3 separate regions of the Homo sapiens genome follow, and regions 1 and 2 are each linked to region 3. The links are contacts of gene promoters, found by promoter capture Hi-C in blood cells and fetal thymus (Javierre and others, 2016). All regions are on one chromosome and are shown on one strand. The core of a region is centred on a gene start or on the middle of the fragment in contact, and the rest is flanking DNA. Distances in the headings are between cores, read along the strand shown. Region 1 overlaps LINC02594 (long intergenic non-protein coding RNA 2594). Region 2 overlaps SOST (sclerostin). Region 3 holds the start of ETV4 (ETS variant transcription factor 4).

Evidence for each region. The method cuts DNA at HindIII sites, captures the fragments that hold promoters and counts their contacts. A CHiCAGO score of 5 or more calls a contact.
Region 1: a fragment that was not itself captured here is called in contact with the fragment with the promoter of ETV4 in region 3 in 1 of 17 cell types (endothelial precursors); the score reaches 5.5 in endothelial precursors.
Region 2: a contact is called between a fragment that was not itself captured here and the fragment with the promoter of ETV4 in region 3, in 3 of 17 cell types (endothelial precursors, M2 macrophages and M1 macrophages). The highest score is 6.4, in endothelial precursors.

The regions. Positions count from the first base shown.
Region 1 is chr17:43,697,977-43,701,944 of GRCh38, forward strand. The region is part of intron 3 of LINC02594 (long intergenic non-protein coding RNA 2594); the gene reads left to right. Among named protein-coding and RNA genes, the nearest start is that of LINC02594, 35 kb to the left of the region's middle. RefSeq lists enhancers at 3,618-3,777, 3,895-3,968. The HindIII fragment of the contact is 1,046 bases long and covers 2,158-3,203 here.
Region 2 is chr17:43,750,091-43,753,853 of GRCh38, forward strand. SOST (sclerostin) reads right to left here. Exons shown (of 2, transcript NM_025237.3): 2 at 3,648-3,763. Among named protein-coding and RNA genes, the nearest start is that of SOST, 6.8 kb to the right of the region's middle. The HindIII fragment of the contact is 864 bases long and covers 1,853-2,716 here.
Region 3 is chr17:43,544,592-43,548,579 of GRCh38, forward strand. ETV4 (ETS variant transcription factor 4) reads right to left here and starts at 1,749. Exons shown (of 13, transcript NM_001079675.5): 1 at 1,594-1,749; 2 at 967-1,077; 3 at 683-776; 4 at 384-431. The coding sequence starts at 1,026. It also overlaps a transcript of DHX8 not described here. RefSeq lists enhancers at 338-1,115, 1,116-1,893, 2,015-2,174 and silencers at 945-1,004, 1,045-1,094, 1,545-1,664, 1,715-1,854, 1,875-1,924. The HindIII fragment of the contact is 22,925 bases long and covers 1-3,988 here.

The sequences.
Region 1 (3,968 bases), core at 1,431-3,930, 150 kb after region 3:
GTGACCAGCCTTGAGGGAAGGGAAGGAAGGGGAGGTGCAGGGAGGCGCAGCAGAGGCACCCGAGTGTGCTCTACGAATGTAAGTCTGCCAGCTGCTCCTCTGTGCCTAGCACCCTGGAAAGCGCCCGCACACAGTGGGCCCTCAGCAAACTCCCACTGAGCAAAGGGCCCTGTGAGTAAGGACCTAGAAGCAGGGTGTGCTTGAGGCATGGGGTGGGAGGGCATCCAGCTTGGCTGGCGGTGGGAGCCGATGCAAAGGTGAGCTGAGACCAGACGGTAGAAGACCTTCAGTGCTGGGCCGAGGAGGGTTCCTTCATCCCATAGAGAAGAGCTGCCATCCAAGACAGAAGGCTGGGGAGTGACATGTTGAAATCAGTATCTTAGGAAAATAAAGCCACTGGCTGGGCCACTGGCTCCCCTTTGTAGAGGGGTCTACGAAGCTCCCGAGGTTTCAGATAGTCCCTGAGAGCCCTTCCCCTCGCGATGGGCTCCGTTTGAGGCATGTCCAGTGTGAAAGGACCACAGGCCACCTGAGGGACAGGACCAAGCAGAGAGCTAGTGACAGAATGCCCAGGGCTCCAAGACAGGGCTGGAGAGGTGGGAGTGGTCCCCACCTTGAGAGCCAAAGGGGCTGAGGGCTGAGGGTTGAAGGCCGAGAGCCAGGAAGGTCCAGGGGAGCAAAAGGGGGAGCAGAGGGGGAGCTGGAGGTGTTGGGGTGGTGGGTAGAGAGCCAAGATAGGGAGGGGACAAGAGAGGGGAGAATCTCAAGGAAAAGCAGGAGCATGAGACTGAGAGAAGGCCCCTGGAACACTGGCTTGAATGTGGCTGACATTGGCACTGCCAGTACTCATCCCAAACCAGGGAGCTCAGCCAGCGCCCTTTCTGCATGTCCGCTCTTTCATCAGACAGCTAGGAACAAGTTATACGAGATGATGTCCAAGTCCAATAAATGTCTAAGTCCTTTCCACTGGATCTGGCCCCAGCCTCCTCTCTGAACCATCTCCTATCACTCCACCCTATCCCTGCTGGCTCCTTCTGCTCCAGCCATACAGGCTTGCTCCTGGGCTCAGCTTGTGCCTGCCTGGGGAGCCTCGCGCTTGCTGTTTCCTCCTTGAGAAATTCCTGCCCTGGATAACTCCTTCCCCCACTTCCTTCAGATCTCTGCTCCCTTATCAGGGGGCTTCCCCTGGCTGCCCTATCTATAACAGCCCTGACCACTCTTTTCCTCTTCTCCTGCTTTCTTTGTCTTCCTGTTCTTATCACTAAGACATCACACATGTCTTAGTTGGCTTGTTTATATTCTGTCTCCACCCATCTTAGTCAGCTACTGCTGAAATGATGCTGTGTAACAAACCACCCCGATACTCAGAGGCTCCAAACAAGTGCTGATCTTTCTCATTTGTGAGTCTGTGTGTCAGCCCGAGCAGGGCAGCTCCAGGCTATGGCTTGGGTTTGGGTGGACTCCATGTCTCTCTCCATTCTCCTTGGACCAGCAGCTCCCTGGGGCACATGCTTGTCTTGGAGAATGGCAGGAACTTAAAAGCCAAGCCAAACCTCACAGCACGGTTAAGGGTGATCATGACACACCGCTAACATTCTAGTGGCCAAAGAAGTCTCATGGCCAAGTGTAATAGCAGTGGATTGGGCAAGTTTACTCTCTTACACCTGTTGTGAAGGGGAGTGGGAGGGGATGGGGGGGTGACCGTTTTCACAACAACAGTGCAAACTATCCCATCTCCCAATAGAACATAAACACCTTAAGGTTGGAACTGGGTCTGTATCCCCAGCACTTAAAATAGTTTTTGGCATACAGTAAGGGTGCAATAGACATTTGTTAAATAAATATACAGACTAACCAATTAGCATAATACAGATGACAAAGGTGTCTCTCTTCTGCCAGCTTCTGTGCCTGAAATGTTGATGATCTCCTCCCTATCTTCCTAACATCTCTCCTGTCCCCACCTGTCCATGCCCAGGGTTTGGCTGCTGTGACAGAAGTGTGAGAGCCTCCTGTCTCCCTTGGGATCCCAGTAAGAGCTTCCATGCCTCTCTCCCTGCTCACCTGGGCTCCCATCCCTGGGGACCTTCTGGAAACAGCTTCCAGGGCTCCCAGAGCTTACTTAGCCAGATTCTACATCTGGCTCCAGCTGTTATCCTAAGCTTGGCCTTGTTTTCTGATCTGACCACAGCTTCATCACTCCTACCTGACTGTGGGATTCTAGCCCCCAGTGGGGTGGGGGACCAAGGGTGACAATTACCTGGGACCTTGACTATTGAAAGGCTAATCAGGTTTGATTGGGAAAAAAGAGTTGCTAAAAAGGATTGTATTGGATAATTGGTGAGATTTGAACATGGATTTTATATTAGTATTGTGTTATTACATTTTCTGATATTAGTCATTCTTTTTTTTTTTTTTTTTTGACGGAGTTTGCTCTGTCACCAGGCTGGAGTGCAATAGTGTGATCTCGGCTCACTGCAACCTCTGCCACCCGGGTTCAAGCGATTCCCCTGCTTCGGCCTCCTGAGTAGCTGGGACTACAGGCGGGTGCCACCACACCCAGCTTGTTTTTGTACTTTTAGTAGAGACAGGGTTTCAACATGTTGGCCAGGATGGTCTCGATCTCTTGACCTCGTGATCTGCCCGCCTCAGCCTCCCAAAGTGCTGGGATTACAGGCATGAGTCACCGCTCCCGGCCGTTAGTCATTCTTATAGGTATGTAAGAAAATGTCCTTGAGGTATTTAGCAGGGAAGTTCATGATCTCTGCAGCTTACTCACAAATGGTTAAACAGAATGAGACTAAGAACAGACTAGTAAGAAAAGACTGAAGAATATAATTATTAGGCCAGGTGCAGTGACTCACACCTGTAAATCCCAACATTTTGGGAAGCTGAGATAGGAGGATCACTTGAGGCCAGGAGTTTGAGACCAGCCTGGGCAACATAGTGAGACCCCATCTCTACAAAAAAAAAAAAAAGTAAAAATTACGTGGGCACGGTGGTATACGCCTGTACTTCCAGCTTCTTGGGAGGCTGAAGTGGGATGATCAGAGGACCTCAGGAGTTTGAGGCTGCAGTGAGCTATGATTGCAGCACTGCACTCCAGCCAGGGAGACAGACTGAGGCCCGGTCTCTAAAAAAAAAGGAATCTATGTGAGTCTATATATTCGTGCAACTTTTCTATAGGATTGAAACTCTTTAAAATAAGCTTAATAATAAAAACAAAAGCTGGTGGGTGAGACCTTTCATGTACTCTCCAGGAGAGTTAAGCCCCCCAACATTCCTGTCCCCTTGTTTACTCTCAAGCACCCCCTCCCCCACCCAAGGACCAGGTCTTTGTTTACTGAGCATCTCAGCGATGAGCTCTCACCCCCTGATTTCATCAATTATAAATGTGCTCGCTACTCACCACACGGCAATTTGTGACGGACTGTGGTTTGTGGTGAGAGTAGCACCATCCAAGTTCACCGCAGCCGCGAGTAGAGATGAGGGTTGGGGCCAGACACAGGGCTGTGGGGGCGGCAAGGGCACGCAGGCAGCCCTGCCACCTTCCTGTTTGTCAGCCAAGTGAGGCTTCCGAGGGCAGCGGGCGAGCGGGTCACTACTCAGGGCCAGCTACTGCGGCCAGGCCAGGCTAGTCAGGTCTGTGCAGCCAGAACTAGAGGCTCCGCCAGGATGTGAGGTCTCCCAGCTCCTGGGAACTGAAGCAAACACTCTGACTACCCCTTCTTGAAGTGCCTTACGGTGTATACATTTGTTTAATCTGCACAACAAACCTAGGAGCAGTTATTGTTACTGTCCTCATTTTGCAGATGAGGAAACTGAGGCAAAGAGAAATTAAGTAACTCCTTCAAAGTCTGGTAAGTGACAGAACCAGATTTTACCCTCTTACTCATTGTCCATATTGCCGAGTAACTTACATTAATAGATACTATGCATGTTTATTTTATTTTTTATTTTTTTTTAGAGAT
Region 2 (3,763 bases), core at 1,035-3,534, 210 kb after region 3:
CCTATCTCTCCTACCTGCAGCTGCTCGCTGCCAGCTCTGGCCCTCTTGGTGGGCAGAAGCTTAGGCACCCCAGACAATTGTAGGGAAATTGGGCATTGGAGGGCAGCCGTAAGAAAGGATTCAGTACCTGCCAAGGAATGATGAATTTAGTCTCTCACCCATGAACAGGCATGCACTTTCAGGGCTCAGGTTCGGTCTCTAAAGCAGAACGTCATTCAGGGCACCCTTCAGTACCCATGACCCAGTGTCTCGCCTTTCCTGCAGGAGTCGGTGCTGCCACTATGGTGACTCAGCCCCTCTCTTCTCCTCATTCATTACCTGGGTTCTTCCTGCAGTGATTGACAGTATCCTTTTTCTTTTGAGATGAAGTCTTGCTCTGTTGCCAGGGCTGGAGGGCAGTGGCACAATCTTGGCTCACTGCAACCTCTGCCTCCTGGGTTCAAGCCATTCTCCTGTCTCAGCCTCCCGAGTACCTGGGATTACAGGTGCATGCCACCATGCCTTGCTAATTTTTGTATTTTTAGTAAAGATGGGGTTTTGCCATGCTGGCCAGGCCAGTCTCTAACTCGTGACCTCAGGTGATCCACCCGCCTTGACGTCCCAAAGTACTGGGATTACAGGTGTGAGCCACCACGCCCAGCAAGTTGCAGCTCTTAATAGCATGGGCACCATATAATTTACTGCCCAGATTGGGTCATTTTTTAGAGTAGAAGTGGGAGCTGTTAATAATTACGCTTGGCCTACAGGTGTAAACGAGACCACCCTGGGCAAACCAGGCACATGGTCGCATTGACTAAGAGGAATATTCCCCTGCCTCCTGCATCTCCAGCCACAAAAGGAGCCTCAGCTGTTGGTCAAAGCTGCCCAATAGCTGAGCCCTTGCCTGCCCTTGGACAAGGGAGAAGACAGAGGGCAGGTTCCAAGAATGGGGTGGGGATGTGGCAGGAAGGACGGTGCAGGCCCCAGAGCTATAATCAATGATCTGGGAGCCGGGTTGTGGAGCACAGGGCTGTGTCAAGGAGCAGGTGGGAGGTGGGTGGGTGTGGGACATGGCACCAGCTTTTGGTGTCTGTGACTCTGAACTTGGCTTACTCGCAGGTGGCTTCTGCAGGCTCTCCACCCTCCCAGCTGCGTAAGTCCTGCCTGATTCAAGGAAAACAGGGAATTTTGGGGTCCTGTGGCTCCTCCAACGTTCTTTTCCTTTACCTCCTTGTGTAAATGTGGCCTGATTTGTACTTGGAGCATAAGTAGACCCCTACAGAGCGTGTGTGTGTGTCTGTGTGTGTGTGTGAGAGAGAGAGAGAGAGAGTGAGAGAGAGAGAGACAGAGAGAGAGAAAGGGACCTATTTCCTTCTATCCCTCTGTCTGTCTTACTCTCAGACTATTAATACAAGCCCTGAGTCTGGCTGTACCCCCAGAACATGTGCCCCGCCCCCTACAACAAAATGCTGCCCCTCCCAGCTAGGTCTGTTGTTTGTTCCTTTTCTGATTGGCGCCAGGCTTATAGACCCCATGTAGGTAGAATATAACTTTCCATAAATAACCTCTAACCCGACCTACAATTTAGCCTTCAGGTTTTTTTCCCCCTCGTGGTAATGGGATTGCAGCCTGGGCTGATCCATCCTGTATCTTCAGGTCCCAGAAAGCAGACCCTAGGTTTGGACATTGCTTGGAATTCCTGGTACCCCCATGTTGCCTTGCACATGGCAAGGACTCGGTACATGTTGAGGAATGGTGGATTCTCTTCTACCCATGAGCAGCCATGCACTTGCAGTCTTTGCTTGGGCTATGCCTTCTGCCTAGAAGCCCCCTTCTCCACCTGGAAAATCTCTAAGCAGCACCCACTTTGTGAAGCTTTCCCTAACCACTATCCCTCATCCCCTCCACAGAGCAAATTACTCCTATCTTGGATTCCCATAACACTTGGTACAAAACAGTGTGACCTGGTTATTGCCCATGTGCCCACCAGGTTCTAAGCAGCTCAAGTGAGGGGTAGGGCAAGGAACTGAGCCCAAGTATGGCTGTGGGCAAAACATTTAACCCCTTGGTGCTTCAGTCTCCTCAGATTCAAACACCAACCTGGGGCTGGGTGTGGTGGCTCACGCCTGTAATCCCAGCACTTTGGGAGGCCGAGGCAGGCAGATCACTTGAGGTCAAGAGTTCGAGACTAGCCTGGCCAACATGGTGAAACCCCGTCTCTATCAAAAATACAAAAATTAGCCAGGCGTGGTGGCACGCACCTGTAATCCCAGCTACTCTGGAGGCTGAGGCAGGAGAATCACTTGAATCCGGGAAGGCAGAAGTTGCAGTAAGCCGAGATCGTGACACTGCACTCCAGCCTGGGCAATAGAGCGAGACTCTGTCTCAAAACAAACAAACAAACAACACAAACCTGACCCAGAGCCCGTGTCCCCACCCACTGGACCGCACTGCCTCTCAGGGATGGAAGATGTCTCTGTTTCCTACCTGCTCTCATATTCTGGGCCCTGAGACACTCATGATGCATGGATTTTCTGCAGGGGCTCACTGAGGCCTCCTCGGGGGCTGGAGCCCCAGGAAGGGACCGGCCACTGATACCCACTCACACCTATCAAAGACTTGATGATGATGATTAATTCAAGTGGGTTATTGGTAGTTAAACTGACAAGTCATCAGGAGGGACCTCAGCTTTCTTTGTGGGGGTGGGTTCCCCCAAGGTAGGCTGGACTTAATTTAAAGCTTTCCAGTTGACCATCCCACCTTAGGGCAACTGAAGAGTAACTTTAGGGTTACTCTTCATCTGAAGATGCTAACTCAGCTAGCATCCAGCACTATTAAGACACCTTGGGGAGGCGAGACTTTGAGAGAAGTGCAGGAGGCTGGCCCACTTTTGAAGATCCTACATTTCTACCCAGGAGGCATCAAATCCACACTTCGAAGAAGATGAAGTTTCCTGTGAGCTGGTCCTGAATTGTACTTGGCTTTGTGTTGTCTATGCCAGTACTAAGCAGGACTTGGCCAGGCTGGTCCTCCATGAATGACTGTCAAATGGAAAACAGAATTAGGAACCAAAGTAGTGGTGTAGACAAAAGGGGCTGGAACCTCAGAGGAGAGAGGGATCATGGGAGATTGGAACATCTCTGGAAGGTTAGGGGAAGAGATGACAAGTAATGTGAATCCTAAAGAAAGAGGATTAGTTATTGGGGGTGCTAAGTGTGGATGGCAAACTAAGGAAGCAGGGATCTGCATGACCATTTGGAGTCAGTAGGAAGCTTGGTGGAGTGGGAGGTGGGAGTCAAGCAGAGAAGGCCTCCCATGTCAGATAGGGAAACTGCACTTGATCCTGGGCAAGGGGGAGCTATGGAAGGCTTTTGAGCAGGGGAGTGATACAATGAGAACAGCATTTTGGAAGCCAGCATGGAGGGGAGGCTGCTAAAAGGATACAAGGCTGAGGTTATTACCATGCCCTGGGTGAAGAAATGCGGTCTGGGTTTGGAAAGGAAGGGATAAACATGACTTTTCAAAGGAAGACATAATTGCCACAAGGGCCACCAGAGAGCAGTCAAAGGTGTGTCCAAGGTTGGAGCTCTAGTGACCAAGAGAAGGGTGTCAACTTTGACAGAAATGACGTCATGTGTGGTTGACAAAATGAGACCACATCCTTTCGGTCATGATTCATTGTCTTTATTAACAATGTCTCTGGACTCTGGAAGAACAGACTGTTAATTCATAAAGCAATATTAACATTGTCATTCTCTACAAGAAAAACTTTTGCATAAATAAC
Region 3 (3,988 bases), core at 499-2,998:
CCCCCACCAACAACACCCCAACATGCACCTTGGCCTGGCGGCTTCTGCAAAACAAACTTTACAAATGAAAATTTCAACCAGGAAAATGGGCCTGGGGCCAAGTTCCATTCAAATAAGCAAATACCCCACACAATGGTCTGATTCATCCTCAAGCCTAGTTACACAAGCCTGGCTCAGGGTAGAGAAAATAAATATCAATATAAGTGTCCACGCTGGGTGCTGGGGTGAGTAGAGTGGCAAGGGACCTGGGGAGAGGGCCTTGGAGAACTCCTTGAGGCAGGGAAGGGAGAGGAGAAGTGTAGGGCTTAGGGTGGAATACCAGGGGCTACGGAGTGTCCCCCTGTCCAGCCTCCCAAAATAGAAAAGGTCACAAAACTACTCACCTTCAGCGAGCCACGTCTCCTGGAAGTGACTTAGATCCTGGAAGAGATCTGAGGGGTAAATAGTGGAATTGGAGGTGAGGTGGAGGGGACGGTAAGAGAGAAGGGGCCCTAGCAAGACCCGGTGACTCCCCTGCCTTGGGAGTAGGGACCGAGAAGAATGACCAAAATCCCTTGGAGGGCGAGTTTTTTGGGGAAACAGGCGGGGGTTCCAGAATCGGCCGTGTGTGTGTGTGTGTGTGTGTGTGTGTGTGTGTGTGTGTGGCGGAGGAGGGTCGCGGTTTGTCTCTCTTGCTCTTTACCTTCAGAGTCGAGGGGCGGCAGGGAGCCCGGGTCCATGAGCTTCCCCAGCGGGCCGATCAGCGCTTCGCGCAAGCTCCCATTTCCGGGCGATTTCTGCGAGAAGCGGGGAGAATGCCCGCGAGTCACCCTGAGGCGCTTAGTCTGGGGGACGAGGTTGGGGTCCTCGGGTGACTCAGGGGCGGGGCAGCCCAGGACTCCGCTGGGACTGCGGGGAGGGGGGCTGTGGTGAGAGTAGGGGCTGGGTGCGGGGCGGGGCGGGCGTGGAGGCCGGCGCGGCGCTCACGCTGCTGAAGGTGTAGGGCACTTGCTGGTCCAAGTATCCGGCTTTCATCCTCCGCTCCATCCGGCCGCTCCCTCCGGCCGCACGGCCGGGGCCCCAAGCGGGGGCCGAGACCTGGTGGGGGAGGGGGCTGCGTTCGCACACCGTCCAGGGAGGGCTGCGATGGGGGCGGGGAGGGGGCAGTCCCAAGGCTCTGGGTCCGACGGCGAAACTTCTCCGACTCACTGGGGCGATGGCGAGGTTTCCGCCTGCCAGGCCGAGCGCCACCACCACTCCCCTCCCGCCAAAGGCCAAAGGAGGTCCCACCTGCTCCCAGGAGCCGGGCTCGCCGTTTCTGCTTTCTGCAGCCCTGCTTTACCCGGGCTCGGTTACATAAGAACGTGTGTGTGTGTGTGTGTGTGTGTGTGTGTGTGTGTGTGTGTGTGTACGCGCGCGCGCGCGGAGGAGCAGGCGAAGCGCACACCATCGCATGCCCACAACTCCCGCGCCCCCTCCAACCCTGAATCCCAGCACCTCCCACCCCCGCCCTGGAATCTGCGGAGGCGGGTGGTGAGAGTGAGTGTGGTGTGCATTGGAGGCGAGGCGGGGAATCACAGACACTCTCCCTCCCTTTCCCTCCCGCAGCCTCACCTGAGGCCGGGGCGTCTGGGCTGGAGCCGCGGGGGGTCCCGAGCATGCCCTGGAGCCCGCACCGAGGGCCGCGGGGCTAGGCCGGAGTAAGGCGGCCCCGGCCCCGGGTCCCCAGCGCACCGACTTGTTTTTCGGGCGCAGCAGACAGTTGTGAGCCCGGGGGAGCAGCTGATTGGTGCATTTCCTTCGCTCGGCCTCAGCTCTCCACCCCCCGCCCCGCCACACCGCCCCCCGTTTCCCTTTGTTTCATTGACTTTTGTGAATGGAACCCCAGGGCTGGGCACGCCCGCCAATCCGGAGAGTCGTCCGGCCTGGCCGGGGGGCGGAGTTTCCCAGCCGCGGGGGCCAATCAGAATGTAGGGGTTGGCTCCCGGCTTCATTCAGTGCTCCGGCTCCCATTCATAAAAAAATAAAACTCGCGGCTGGAGTTCATTCATAAAGAACCGAGAGAAAAAGAGAGAAGCCGAGGACCCCGCGGCTTCTTCACCGTCTCGCCACGGTCTTGGGTCTGATGCGCCGCGTGCTCCTCCGGCTGGCGTCTGCACACGTCTCTGCATCTGCGTGTACGTGGGAGTATGAACATGTCTGTGTGCGCCCAGGAGGGAGGCGACCGGGCTTGTGTGCCCAGAGGAACAATAATAACTAGCATTTATGAAGCGCTCCGCTTCCACGTGCTCATTTCGTTCCCATAACCCGGCGAAATGGATCGTTTGTATCTTACAGATATTAAAAATGAAACTCAGAGAGGGATGGTAACTCTCCTGAGGTCACTCAGCTAGTCAGCACCTCTGGGGTTTACAGCCTCAAATCCCTCACACTCTCCTGTACACCCCTCTGAAGCCATGATTAAATGAGTTAAGCTATGTGACAACTGATACACAGTAGGTGATCAATAAATGTAAACTGGCACAGAATCCAGGCTTTTCCTCAAGGGTCTGTTCTCTGCAGAGCTGTTTTGTGACCCACTTTCTACTGATTGCAGCAGAAACCAGAAGCCCCAGGGTAGATGATTTCCGAAAGTGTAGCTCCCTCTCAGCCATCTTCCCTCTTATCTGAGAGCCAGCAAAAGGAGCAAAAGCCCCAAAGGTTCTGATGATCTGGAGGCAGGATGGGTTTCAGTTTTAGCTAAGAAGCTGGTCATAGTCTCTGTCATCTCATCCATTCACCACTTCTTTCAATAAACATTTATCGTGTCAGATACAGTGCTGGGTTCCAGGCAAGCAGCTATGTCCAAGACAGACATCTGAGGGGACCTGGGGTGCTTGGGCTGTGGCCATGGGGGCACAAAGGACATGAATCCTCAAAGGCCTTTTTGCTGAGACAATTCTCTATGTCTCCAGCCTATGCACTCCTTTGAGGACAGCCTGATTTTTTATCCTGCCTGTTTGTGATAAACACAAAAGAATGTTCAAATGCCAGGCCAGCAGGAGTGGCTTCCCAAATTCATCTAACCTAACACCCGCCACTTTACAGATGAGGCAGTGGAGTTTCAGAGAAGGAAATGACACATGTAAGCTCTTTGGGCCTGTCTGGCCAGAACTAAGGCTAAAACATACAATTGCTGTTTAGTGTTCATAAGGGCTCATTCCATGAGATCTGCTTGTGCAAATGGAAGTAAACTTCCCTTTCTATAGGTGCTGTAATATTCTATAAGGCTCATGTCTATTGTCCCTCTCCTCCAGGAAGCCTTCCATGATAGCCTGAATCAGTTCCTTTAGCCATATACAACATTCTTGACTATATCTCTGGTGTGGATGTTTTTCATCCTGCCTCATGGTATAGACATCCTTATCTATGGAGAGCTCTCCAGAGCTCATTTGCCTCTGAAAGTCCTCCTCAGCCTGTTAGCATGCTTATGAGGGTGGCATGAAATGCTTGTGTAGTGAATAGGTACAATAAAGACCAAATTAATTGAGCTTAGCAGGAACCCTGCCCAAGGAAGGAGAAACAAGCCCAAGCAAATCCCAGCTTTGGGCTGGATGGAACCAGTTTAGAGACAAGTGTGAGTTCTGGCCAAGAGAAGTGGAGAGGAGGACAGAGGGCTCTTCCTGGAAGGCAGCTTTGATGTGGTCTCCATGACAACGAAGAAGAGTCCAGTAGGTCTTTAAGTTGGTACTGGGCACTTCAGTAGGATGGGACCTCTCTAGGGATGCCAGTGCCCCTCTGGTTCTGAGTTTTTTTGTTTTTGTTTTTGAGACAGAGTTTCACTCTTGTTGCCCACACTGGAGTGCAAAGGTGCAATCTCGGCTCACTGCAACCTCCGCCTCCCGGGTTCAAGCGATTCTCCTGCCTCAGCCTCCCGAGCAGCTGGGATTACAGGTGCCCGCCACCATACCTGGCTAATTTTTTGTATTTTTAATACAGACGGAGTTTCACCATGTTGGTCAGGCTGGTC